4 separate regions of the Homo sapiens genome follow, and regions 1, 2 and 3 are each linked to region 4. Evidence: promoter capture Hi-C in 16 types of primary human blood cells and fetal thymus (Javierre and others, 2016). All regions are on one chromosome and are shown on one strand. The core of a region is centred on a gene start or on the middle of the fragment in contact, and the rest is flanking DNA. Distances in the headings are between cores, read along the strand shown. Region 1 has its middle 2.7 kb from the start of CLINT1. Region 2 has its middle 58 kb from the start of CLINT1. Region 3 has its middle 10 kb from the start of PTTG1. Region 4 holds the start of UBLCP1 (ubiquitin like domain containing CTD phosphatase 1).

Region 1 (2,700 bases), core at 157-2,656, 1.4 Mb after region 4:
TGGTGAAACCCTGTCTCCACTAAAAATACAAAAAAAAAACTGGCCAGGAGCAGTGGCTCACACCTGTAATCCCAGCACTTTGGGAGGCCGAGGCGGGTGGATCACCTGAGGTCAGGAGTTCAAGACCAGCCTGACCAACATGGTGAAACCCTGTCTTTACTAAAGATACAAAAAACTAGCTGGGCTTGGTGGCAGATGCCTGTAATCCCAGCTACTCGGGAGGCTGAGACAGGAGAATTGCTTGAACCCAGGAGGCGGAGGTTGCAGTGAGCCAAGATTGCACCACTTCACTCCAGCCTGGGTGACAGAGCGAGACTCCATCTCAAAAAAAAAAAAAAAGAAAGAAAGAAACCAATATTCTGACCTCTGGAGATGAACAGTCAGGTGTGATCAAAAACAAGACTCGTGAGTCCAAATACTGAAACCAAGGTGCAAATGTTCACCTGCTGTGTCAGTTTGAGTACTACAGGAAACAGAAGCCAAGATGGAATTAGAAGTATAAGATATATTAGGGGAAATGCCTATGAAGGAAAAAGGGAAGCGAGAGCAAGAGCAGGTGGTAAGGGTCTGAGACCACAAGGAAGTTCTGACACCTGTCAAGGAAGAGAAGGAAGGAAGGAAGATTGGGTAGGAAGAGTATCTGATTGCAGCAAGGCTTTGAGGAAATCTGGGCCAAGTCGATGGGAAGCCCAGGTCAATGATTGCCCGGTGAAGGAGTCCAGCACTGGGCAGAAATGGCCTGGCTCCAGCACACCTTTCTCAGTCATTGCTGGGAATAGCCCTACAGAGAGTATGCCGTTGGCATAAATGATCCCAGAGGAAGACAGCAGGAAGCTGTCAGTCAACCACACTCCTTGCAACTGGTTCTCTTGAAAGTAGGTCTGAATGGTGCTTTTCCATGGCTGCCATACCCATGTACCATGAATTAAACTCCCCCAAGGGAACTCTAGGGAGGTGACCGCATGAAATAAGCAGTCAGTGTCCATTGTCTACACTGCTTCTCACAACACACATCATTAACATAACTGAGTATATATGTATATATATATTTTTTTTGAGATGAGTTTCGTATGCGATCTCAGCTCACTGCAACCTCCACCTCCCGGGTTCAAGCGATTCTCCTGCCTCAGCCCCCCGAGTAACTGGGATTACAGGCATGCGCCACCACGCCCAGCTAATTTTGTATTTTTAGTAGAGACAGGGTTTCTTCATATTGGTCAGGCTGGTCTCGAACTCCCGACCTCCGGTGATCCACCCACCTTGGCCTCTCAAAGTGCTGGGATTACAGGCGTGAGCCACCACATCCGGCCTTTTTTTTTTTTTTTTCCTTCAAAACGTGTGTTGGTTTGGCCTTACTAAAAGTGTCAGCTCATTTAGTAAAAAATATATGTTTTCCTGAAGAAGAGTGGGTGGAGCATTTTCTCATTTATTTTTCTACCATGAACATATTTGAATTGCCACAAAGAAGTTACTATGGAAACTGCTCTCGAACTTGCAAGATAAAAGGTAAAAATGGAACACTTTGTTGAAATGCAAATAGTCTCTGGAGATCACTTTTTAACAAAGTCTCCGGGTCTGATTTTTCTGAGTCCTTTAAAGGCTCTCTTGAATTAGAAGCGGACAGGCAGATTTTTTGGCTTTACATTCCAGATGGCTCCAGCTGACTGTGCAAATGTCACAGGTGACAACTCTAGGATGGGTCTAGACGTATGCAAACTTGGTTTTGGAATGAGCAAAGAGGCTGACAGTGCCCTGCTGTGAACACCCAAACAGGCCCAGGGGAGGGAAGGTGGTTGTTTCTGGGCCAGGCCCGTTCTGCAGGTGTACTCTGGACTCACTTGTTTGAAAGTTAACTTGCTGAGCTCTTATTTATGCAAAGTAGTTTCTCTTTCTTATCTCCTCTGGCCACATTCCATCTCTGGGATCTTGAGCTGGATAGTCTTTTCAACAAAAAAACACAAACTTCTTATTTGAAAGCCCTATTCCTCTACCCATCTCTGCTCATCTTTACCTGCCTCTCCCCACCCACCTCTCCAACTCACTTCATATCAGCCCAAGTACTCCTACCATTACAAAGCTCTGAGATAACTTTGGATTTCTGCTTGTTGTAATTTTCTGCCTGTCAATTCCTTCAACCTTGCTTCTTTCTCTTGGGGCCTCAATCCGAAAGCCTTACTGAAACTTTTTTCAAAGCTGCTTTCGGTAATTAAGTGAATGCAACTTGGAGAGGGTTTCCTGTAGTCTCAGCTACTTGAGAGACTGAGGTGGGAGGATTGCTTGAGCCCAGGAGTTTCAGATCAGCTGGGGCAACAGAGTGAGACCTCCAGCTCAAAAAAAAAAAAAAAGAAAAAGAAAAAGAAAATAGAAAAGAGGTGGTTTCACTTGAGGGACCAGGGTCCGAGGTTGTTTATTTGGGATTATTGTTACCTAGCTTCATGACTAGCAACCATCAATTTCACTTCTTTGTGAATTGGAGTCTTTATTTGATCCTTTCGAGGGATCCTTCCATTTCAACCTCCTAAGTAGCTGGCCTCACAAGAGTGTGCCCCAACGCCTGGCTTTTTTTTTTTTTTTTTTTTTTTTTTTAAAGACTGGGCTGGCAGGGGGATCTCACTTTGCTGCCCAGGCTGGTCTCAAACTCCTGGGCTCAAGTGATCCTCCTGCCTTGGCCTCCCAGCCTCCCAAAATGCTGGGATAACA
Region 2 (2,700 bases), core at 134-2,633, 1.3 Mb after region 4:
ACAGGCCACAACATTCCAAACCTCCCTAATTGCTCCCAGGGATAACAGCACTATTGTAAAACCTAAGATCAGTGCTCTAGGTACTTTTCAGACCCTGCATTTTGATGCAGCAGAGGGCGCCACCCAGACCAGTAAACCGACTCATCTGGTCTTGTGGCCTCTACTCAAAAACTGACTCAGCACAAGAGGACAGCCTTGACTTCCTATGATTTTTGTCTCCCACCCAACCAATCAGCACTCCCCACTCCCTGGCTCCCTACCCACAAAATTATCCTTTAAAATCCTCAGTCTCTGAATTGTCAGGGAGACTGATTTGAGTAATAATAAAACTCTGGTCTCCCATTCAACCGGCTCTGTGTGAATTAAAGTCTTTCTATATTGCAATTCCTGTCTTGATAAATTGTCTGTATCTGGCCAGTGGCAAATTAACCTGTTGGGTGGCTGCATGACAGTGGTAAATAAAAAGAATTATTTTGATCCTGATAAGGAACACTTTATTCAAAAGACTACTGTAATGGGGTTTTGTAGTAGGGGAGGGAGATTGGGCACAACTCCAAATACAACAACAACAACAAAAAAATGGGGATTTTGGCCAAGAAGCAGGGCAGAGGCATGAATGGATGGGAAATCACTAGGAGGGTAGGATAATTCTTGCTAAATTAGCCTAACAGGATTCTTGCTAAAGGCAGGCCAGGGTGATCAGATATCAAGGGTGAGGATTCTCTGTAAACTTACTGTCTTAGTTGATTTTGTGTTGCTATAACAGAATACCACAGACTGGGTAAGTTATAAAGAAAAGAAATAGCTGGGTGCAGTGGCTCACACTTGTAATCCCAGCACTTTGGGAGGTTGAGGCAGGAGGATTGCTTGAGCCTAAGGGTTCAAGACTAGCCCGGGCAACATAGTGAGACCTTGTCTCTACTAAAAATAAAAAATTAGCCAGGCATTGTGGCACACACCTGTGGTCCCAGCTACTCAGGGAGCTGAGGTGGGAGGATTGCTTGAGACCAGGAGGTCAAGGCTGCAGTGAGCCATGATTATCTCACTGCGCTCCAGCCTAGGTGACAGAGCAAGACTCTGTCTCAAAAAAATTTAAAAAAAGGAAAGAAAAGAAATATTTCTTACAGTACTGGAGGCTGGGAAGTCCAAGGTCAAGGGGCCCGCATCTGGAAAGGGCCTTCTTGCTGCATCATCCCATGGCAGAAGGTGAAAAGGCAAGAGAAGAGGCTGCGGTCACTTTTTTTTCTTTTTTTTTTTTTTGGAGACGGATGTCTCGCTCTGTCACCCAGGCTGGAGTGCAGTGGCGCGATCTCGGCTCACTGCAACCTCCTCCTTCCAGGTTCAAGAAATTAACCTGCTTCAGCCTCCCGAGTAACTGAGACTACAGGCACACGCTGCCATGCCCGGCTAATTTTTTTTTTTTTTTTTTTTTTTTTTTTGTATTTTAGTAGAGACGGGATTTCACCATGTTGCCCAGGTGGGTCTTGAACTCCTGAGCTCAGGCAATCCACCCACCTCAGCCTCCCAAAGTGCTAGGATTATAGGCGTGAGCCACTGCACCCAGCCTGAGCTCACTTTTTAAATAAATTCATTCTCATGATAACAAAAGCACTCCTGTGATAACAGCATTAATCCATTCATGAGGGTGGAGCCCTCATGAACAAATCGCCTCTTATTAGGCCCCATCTCCCAACACTGCTGCATTGGGGATTAAGTTTCCAACACATGAACTTTTGGGGACACATTCAAACCACTGCGCTAACTTAACAAGATTCTTGCTAAAACTGAGTGATGTGAGTCCAGCAAGGATGGACACTGAAGCTCAAGGCCTACAGGATTTAGAGGAGCCTCACTAGAGTTAGGTCCAGAAGGGATCTTTTGCCAGCAGTGACAGCTAACCTAGTCATGATGAGAGAGAAGCAAAACTTGCTGGAAGAAGACACATCTATGCCAAATCATGAAACATGAATACACTTTAGCCAAGCAGAGTGTAAAATTGGAAGATAAGAGCATCTCAGCCAGAGGAACCCACCTGTTCAAAGGCCAAAAGGTAAAAATGAGGATGGTACACACAGAAAACGGCAAAAGATGTAGCCTGGCTAGAGCCCACAGTGTACAGAAATGGAATTAAGGGTGTACCAATTAGCTATTGCTATATAACAAACCATGGCAAAACTCAGTGGCTTGAAATAATAACAGCATTATTGTTGCTCATGAGTCTATGGGTCAGTTGAGCAGTTCTTGTTTCAGTTAGGCTCATTCATGTATTGGCAGTCAGCTGAGAGCTGGGCAGGCGGCTCTCTTTTGCATGCCTAGGCATCCGCTAGCTGTAGACTGGTCTAGGATAGCCTTGGCTGTGACGACTGGGCTGTCTTCCAAATCAGCTCCCATTCTCCAGCAGCCTGGCCTGTCCACACGGTGGTGGCAGGGTTCCAAGAGAGAGCAGAAGTACTCCAGACCTCTTGAGACCTAGGCCCAGAATTGACACAGGACCACTTCCAGTGTATTTAAAAAGCCAAAGCAAGTCACATAGCCAGACTAGAGTCAAGGGGCAGGGAAATAGACTCCACCCCTTGATGAGAGAAGCTGCACAACATTTTTGCAAATCATGTGAACACAAGGAGGGAGAATTTGGTCTTTTTTTTTTTTTTTTTTGGCCTCCAAATCAACCTACTGTAGAGAGAGAGGATTGGCAAGATG
Region 3 (2,700 bases), core at 30-2,529, 1.2 Mb before region 4:
CCTGCAGGGAAACCTTCACCCCATCCTGGTTCTGCAGCCCTCAAAGGGGATGGAAAAGATCCCAGTGGTTAATCATGGAAGGGCAGAGGCCTTGGACAGCCCCTGGACCAAGGAATAGAAGGGCCCACCTGGGAAAGGTGTGGGAAGAGAGGCAGGCTGCCATTCTCAGGAGGGACAGGGTTTTCAGCCGTGGAGAAGAGGGTGATTCTCTACACAAGGACCTCCCCATGAGCAGAGGCCACCAGCATCGTGCAGAGCACAACAGCCAGAACGAAGCCAGCACACTTCCCATAACCAACAAGTGGCCTGTCACACGAGCAGACTCTTTTCTCCCTCCAGCCGTCCTCCCAGGCTTGGGGCTGGACTAAGCCCCTATGAGGGTCATAACACCGGAAGGGGAGAAGGGACATGTGTGGTGAGCAGAGCATACACATGGGCTTTTGCCAAGCCCTCGCCTGTACTAGGGGAGAGGGAGAAGAGCCTGAAATAGGTGTGAACCTCAAGTTTTAAAATAAGCAAAGTTTAATTTTAACCAAAAGTAACTGGAAAGCTATGAAATCTGTCTGAATGCTGCTCAGCATCACCCACCACCCAGAAAGGAGGAAAGGAGAACAGGTCAACAAAACACAGTTGGTGGCAATAAAAAAAGAAAGAAACTCAGTTTATGTTTCCCCAGCAGAGCTGGAGCTTCTCAGTAAACAGGTTATACCTGGGCTTGGTGGGGCACAGACAGACAGGTGACCAGGAACTGTCTAGGGTAGGAGAAGCTGACCTCCTAGACCTGTGCCTGCCCCCACCACTCTCTCTCTGGAAACCTTGAAGTCAGGCTCCCTGGCCCTGATACCGTGTGATGCTAACAGTGGGTACAGTGCAGTCGCTGGGTCTCTAGAAACCTGGATCCCCAGGGACTGATGACATCTTTACTCATTTCAGCAAGTCCCTGAAGCACCTGCCACATGCCAGGCAGAGAATACACCAGTGCACAGGACACACCTCATCCTGCTCCCAGTAGAGCGGAGGAGAGGACCAGACACAGCCGAGCATGGTAAGTGCAAAGGCTTCTGGTAAGAAAAGCATCTCATTGGAGTACTAGAGATGGACAGGTTTGGCCAGGTGAATCAGGACAGGAAATTACACCCCCAAGGAGCCACCACAAGGCCGTGTGAGCCACACTGAGCAACTCAGACTTCATCCTGGTGGCAGAGGGACATCATTCCAAAGTAAATGAAGTGGGGAATGAGTGCTTGATGAGCATGGGTTTATTTTTGGGGGTGATGAAAGTGTTCTGAAATTAGACAGTGGTGATAGTTGCATATACTCTGAACTAAAAGCCACTGAATTGTACATTTTTAAATGAATTTTCTTATGTGAATGTTACCTCAAAAAAAAAAAAAAGGCCGGGCATGGTGGCTCACGCCTGTAATCCAAGCACTTTGGGAGGCCAAGGCCGGCAGATCACGAGGTCAGGAGATCGAGACCATCCTGGCGAACACGGTGAAACCCTGTCTCTACTAAAAATACAAAAAAAAAAAAAATTAGCTGGGCGTGGTGGTGGGCGCCTGTAGTCCCAGCTACTCGGGAGGCTGAGGCAGGAGAATGGCATGAACCCGGGAGGTGGAGTTTGCAGTGAGCCAAGATTGCACCACTGCACTCCAGCCTGGGCGACAGAGCAAGACTCCGTCTCAAAAAAGAAAAAAAATGAAAGGAATATCTAGAAGGAACTTTCAATTCCAATCAAGATGGAGTAACAGGGACCAGATTTACTCTCCTGCCTGAAACTAAAAAACAAGACAAAATATATGAAATGAGGGCTGCCCAAAGAGTGAACATCAGGCGACAGAGAACAGCGATGCCTGAGGAATGTGAAATAAGTGAGGTGAGGCCGATGACTATCCTTACTGGCTACTTTTGAGTTTCCAGGCCTCAGAGTGGGGAAGAAAGGGAGGCAGGCAGAGCCCAGTGAATTTCCTGAGTTGAAGAGACAGAGCAGAGTCAGGCCAAGGCAGGCCAAGTTTGCAGAGCAGAGCACTGGAGAGGAGAGAGCTGCACAGAGAGAACCCTGGAAATTTGCAGAGGGTCTCCCTGTAGTATTCAGAAGAGCACTGATCCATATAGCTGAAAAGATCAGAGGGAAGAATTCCTGAAGCCCACACAGGGCTGGGAATAGTGTCTGCTCCCACCAGCTAGACAGGAAAACCTCATAATTCAGGGGGCAGCAGAGTCCTAAGCATCTCACACTTCAGTAGTAGGGGGAAATGAGCCCTGGGCTAAATGCTGCTCTGGTGATGCCTAACATTAAAGGCAAGTCTCAAATGAATCAAATTGCTTCTAGGTACCTTACCCATACTCTAGAACAAAGTTTAAGAATATTAATAGAAATGTAAAAATACCCAGCATGAAAAAAGGTAAAATCCATGGCTGGCATGGAAAGTAGAAAAATACAACTTGTAATAAGAAAGAAGAAATGGTAGCAAGATAATGGCATTCCTGACTGTTAGCTCCTACTATAAGAAGGTACAGTATCCTGAGAGGCAGGCTCAGAGGTAGTGTAGAGAAATGCAGAAGGTTTACAGAGTTGTAAAGGTATGAATAAAGTCTGTCTTATTTCAAAAAGTGTCAGAACAAAATAGCAACAACCCCCACAAGATGCAAATTATCTGTATTAATGGAGGAGCATCTGCTTAAAGTTCTCAGTCTCAG
Region 4 (2,700 bases), core at 168-2,667:
ACAAGGTCAGTCCTCCTCACCTCTGATGAATGCTCAAATTTGAGAGTCAGTACTACAGGCTCTTCAATGTTTTCAGCCTTAAAAAAAATGTGCCAGAGGGCATGGGCTCTATATGGTTAATAAAGCAGCATAAAAACGTTACGAAGCACCTATCCCACAAGTGGAAATTCCAAGTTGGCAAATGCCTTAAAGGGCCAAGCGAAACAAACACCATAAAAATTGTAAATGCATATGTCTTTAAGATTTGTTTAAAAGTTACTGAACCTTATTTCATCATTAAGACCGTTCACACCAATGAAGCAGTGTGATATAAATGCATGAGCTATTTTGCTTTCACATTTAACCTTCTTTCTTAGTATTTTGTATCATTTCAGATCCCATCAGATTTATAAGCTGAAAAATGATTTGGGGTGTGGGGAGGAGTGAAGTTGGCAAACCCAAACAAGCAAGCAAAGAATACACTTCCATATGGTCAACCTAGGGTCAAGAATAGCTGTTTAGGTTGGAGTTCTACCTAACATACTGTGTTGACTTTGCCTAGTCAATCCACCTCTTGGCCTCAGTCTTCTCAACAAGATGAGGCTACTAATATTCACTGGACAGGAGTAGTGTTAAGGTATGAAGTAACACCTGTGACAGCACTTTGTAAACTGTAAAACACAATACAAATGGTGTTCATGATGGAATAAAAACATGCTAAACAATTATCTCATTGAAGCTTCACAATCCTGAACCAACAGCTGTTGTCCTCATTATACAAATGAGAATCCTGAAAAGAAATTAAACTTGCCCGGGACCACAAACCTAAAAAGTGGCAAATGAAGAAATTTTAAAGTATAGCAGTAAAAGTAACACTTTGGGAATTAACGGGAGGTTAACTTTCAACAATCCCAGCAAAAGATAACCGTGAAGCACTAAGAACTCCGGCGAGAACCGCACACCAGCAACAACTGCGAGGTGGTGCAGGGTCGGGGGCTGTGCTAACTGACTTAGGGGAGCATTAGGAGGCAGGTGGAGGCTCCAGAACCAAAAAGGCCGGGATGCCTTCAACAAGGAGGTTGAGGGGAGGGATGGACAAGCCTGAGAAGACGGAGGAATGAAGTTTGGGGACGCAAAACCCACTGGGAAACAGAAAGCCCTCCAAATAGGCTAGACTGCTGGATGGGAGGACAGCGGCCCCCGCGACTAAGCGGGCCGGGGCTAGGGGCCTGGGCGTCAGACTAGGACAGACACTATCCCCAGCCCGCCGCAGTGCAAGCCACGCCGCGCGGGCCGCAAAGCCACTGTCCCCGAGCCCCAACAGCGTCTCCAAGGGCAGCGCGCCAGGGTGCCCCGCAACCCCTCACCTGGAGCGCGGTGGAACCTGCGGCAGCGGACGCAGAAACCGGCCGCTGAGAGACCGAAAGCGACCGGAAGTGAAGGGCGGGACCGGAACCGGCTGAAAAACCGGAAGTGGGTGGTTTGAAACGGAAATATGTTGGGGACGGAACAACTGCTTCCTTTGAATCTCTTCGGGTGCTAATCAAATGGCCGCTGTAAGGGATCTCCACAAAGCCACGAAGAAGCCAGGCCTTTCCGAGACTGTAACCGCTGTGCAGATAGCGCCGATCCCTGGGTGGCCGCTCTCTCGTTCTGCGCGTGCGCTCGTTCTGGGCTGGGAGCGGATGGGTGCTGAGGCGTGTGACGTCTCTAGTAGTGTCGTAACTGGGTGTGCTGCCTTTTCCAGGTGTACTGAGGTCTTCGTGAGATTCAGGGCTAGGACTCGTGTGGCTGTGTCATGTTCCGAATGAAGCTTAAAAGGTGATCTTTGAGAACTGAAGACTTGAGACCCCTCCATGGGCCCAGGGGCTGCCAACACTAATAATTTCAGAGACTTAGAATCTGAGGAGAATCTCCAATCTAAGGGGAAACGGAAGAGGGTCAGGAAAGAGAAGGGGCAAGCTTAAGTGACTCAGAATCCAAGAAGCAAGTCTCATAGGAGAGCTGCGATCGAGGTTACCATACAGTATCCAATCGTCTCAACCTTCCCATCCATACTTCCATGCTGTCTTTCCTCTGAATGCAAGGAAAACCGGTTACACAAACGCTGACAAAAGAATGTCAGACTTGAATGGAAATTCGGAGCAGTACCCATCTGGTCCATACAGCGAACTCCCAGTGAGCACCACGGCAATGTAACTAATTCATGTTTCCCTCTTGGCAGTGCGGGAAAGGCAGCAAAGAGCCAAGTTTTGTATCTTAACAGTTCTTTAGTTAAGAGGCACACGCTATTTTGCATTCTTCCCTACTTTTGATAATTTTTGGCTGCACTAGTAATGCATGAGTATCTGCTCATTTAAAAAACTCAAACTTTTTCAGTGAAAAGTATGCCCTTTTCTTCAGAAAGTCTTAATTAAAAAAAAAAAAAAAATCATTGCCCAGACCAACATTTTCAAGCATTTTCTCAAATCGTTTTCTTGGAATAGCTGCATAGTTTTGGGTCTTACATTGAAGTTTGGTGCTCATATGTGGGAGCTAAAAAAAAGTTGACTCCATGGAGATAGAGAGTAAAATTGTGGTTACCAGAGGCTGGGAAGGATAAGGAGGGAGAAGGAGATGAAGAGAAGTTAAAAGGAGCGAAAATATGGTTAGACAGAAGGAATAAGTTGTAGCGTTCCACAGCACAGTAGGGTGACTATAGTAATCAATAATTTATTTTGT

Evidence for each region. Contacts are between HindIII fragments. The CHiCAGO score rates a contact against its expected background, and 5 or more counts as called.
Region 1: a contact is called between a fragment that was not itself captured here and the fragment with the promoter of UBLCP1 in region 4, in 9 of 17 cell types (fetal thymus, naive CD8 T cells, naive CD4 T cells and 6 more). The highest score is 15.2, in fetal thymus.
Region 2: a fragment that was not itself captured here is called in contact with the fragment with the promoter of UBLCP1 in region 4 in 1 of 17 cell types (fetal thymus); the score reaches 5.9 in fetal thymus.
Region 3: a contact is called between a fragment that was not itself captured here and the fragment with the promoter of UBLCP1 in region 4, in 1 of 17 cell types (total CD8 T cells). The highest score is 5.1, in total CD8 T cells.

The regions. Positions count from the first base shown.
Region 1 is chr5:157,860,521-157,863,220 of GRCh38, reverse strand. No RefSeq gene overlaps it. Among named protein-coding and RNA genes, the nearest start is that of CLINT1, 2.7 kb to the right of the region's middle. The HindIII fragment of the contact is 5,007 bases long and covers 1-2,700 here.
Region 2 is chr5:157,915,548-157,918,247 of GRCh38, reverse strand. No RefSeq gene overlaps it. Among named protein-coding and RNA genes, the nearest start is that of CLINT1, 58 kb to the right of the region's middle. RefSeq lists a silencer at 94-203. The HindIII fragment of the contact is 3,686 bases long and covers 1-2,700 here.
Region 3 is chr5:160,430,603-160,433,302 of GRCh38, reverse strand. No RefSeq gene overlaps it. Among named protein-coding and RNA genes, the nearest start is that of PTTG1, 10 kb to the right of the region's middle. RefSeq lists an enhancer at 784-873. The HindIII fragment of the contact is 3,173 bases long and covers 1-2,700 here.
Region 4 is chr5:159,262,007-159,264,706 of GRCh38, reverse strand. UBLCP1 (ubiquitin like domain containing CTD phosphatase 1) reads right to left here and starts at 1,417. Exons shown (of 11, transcript NM_145049.5): 1 at 1,347-1,417. RefSeq lists enhancers at 1,177-1,684, 1,441-1,750, 1,781-1,850, 1,685-2,192. The HindIII fragment of the contact is 1,074 bases long and covers 721-1,794 here.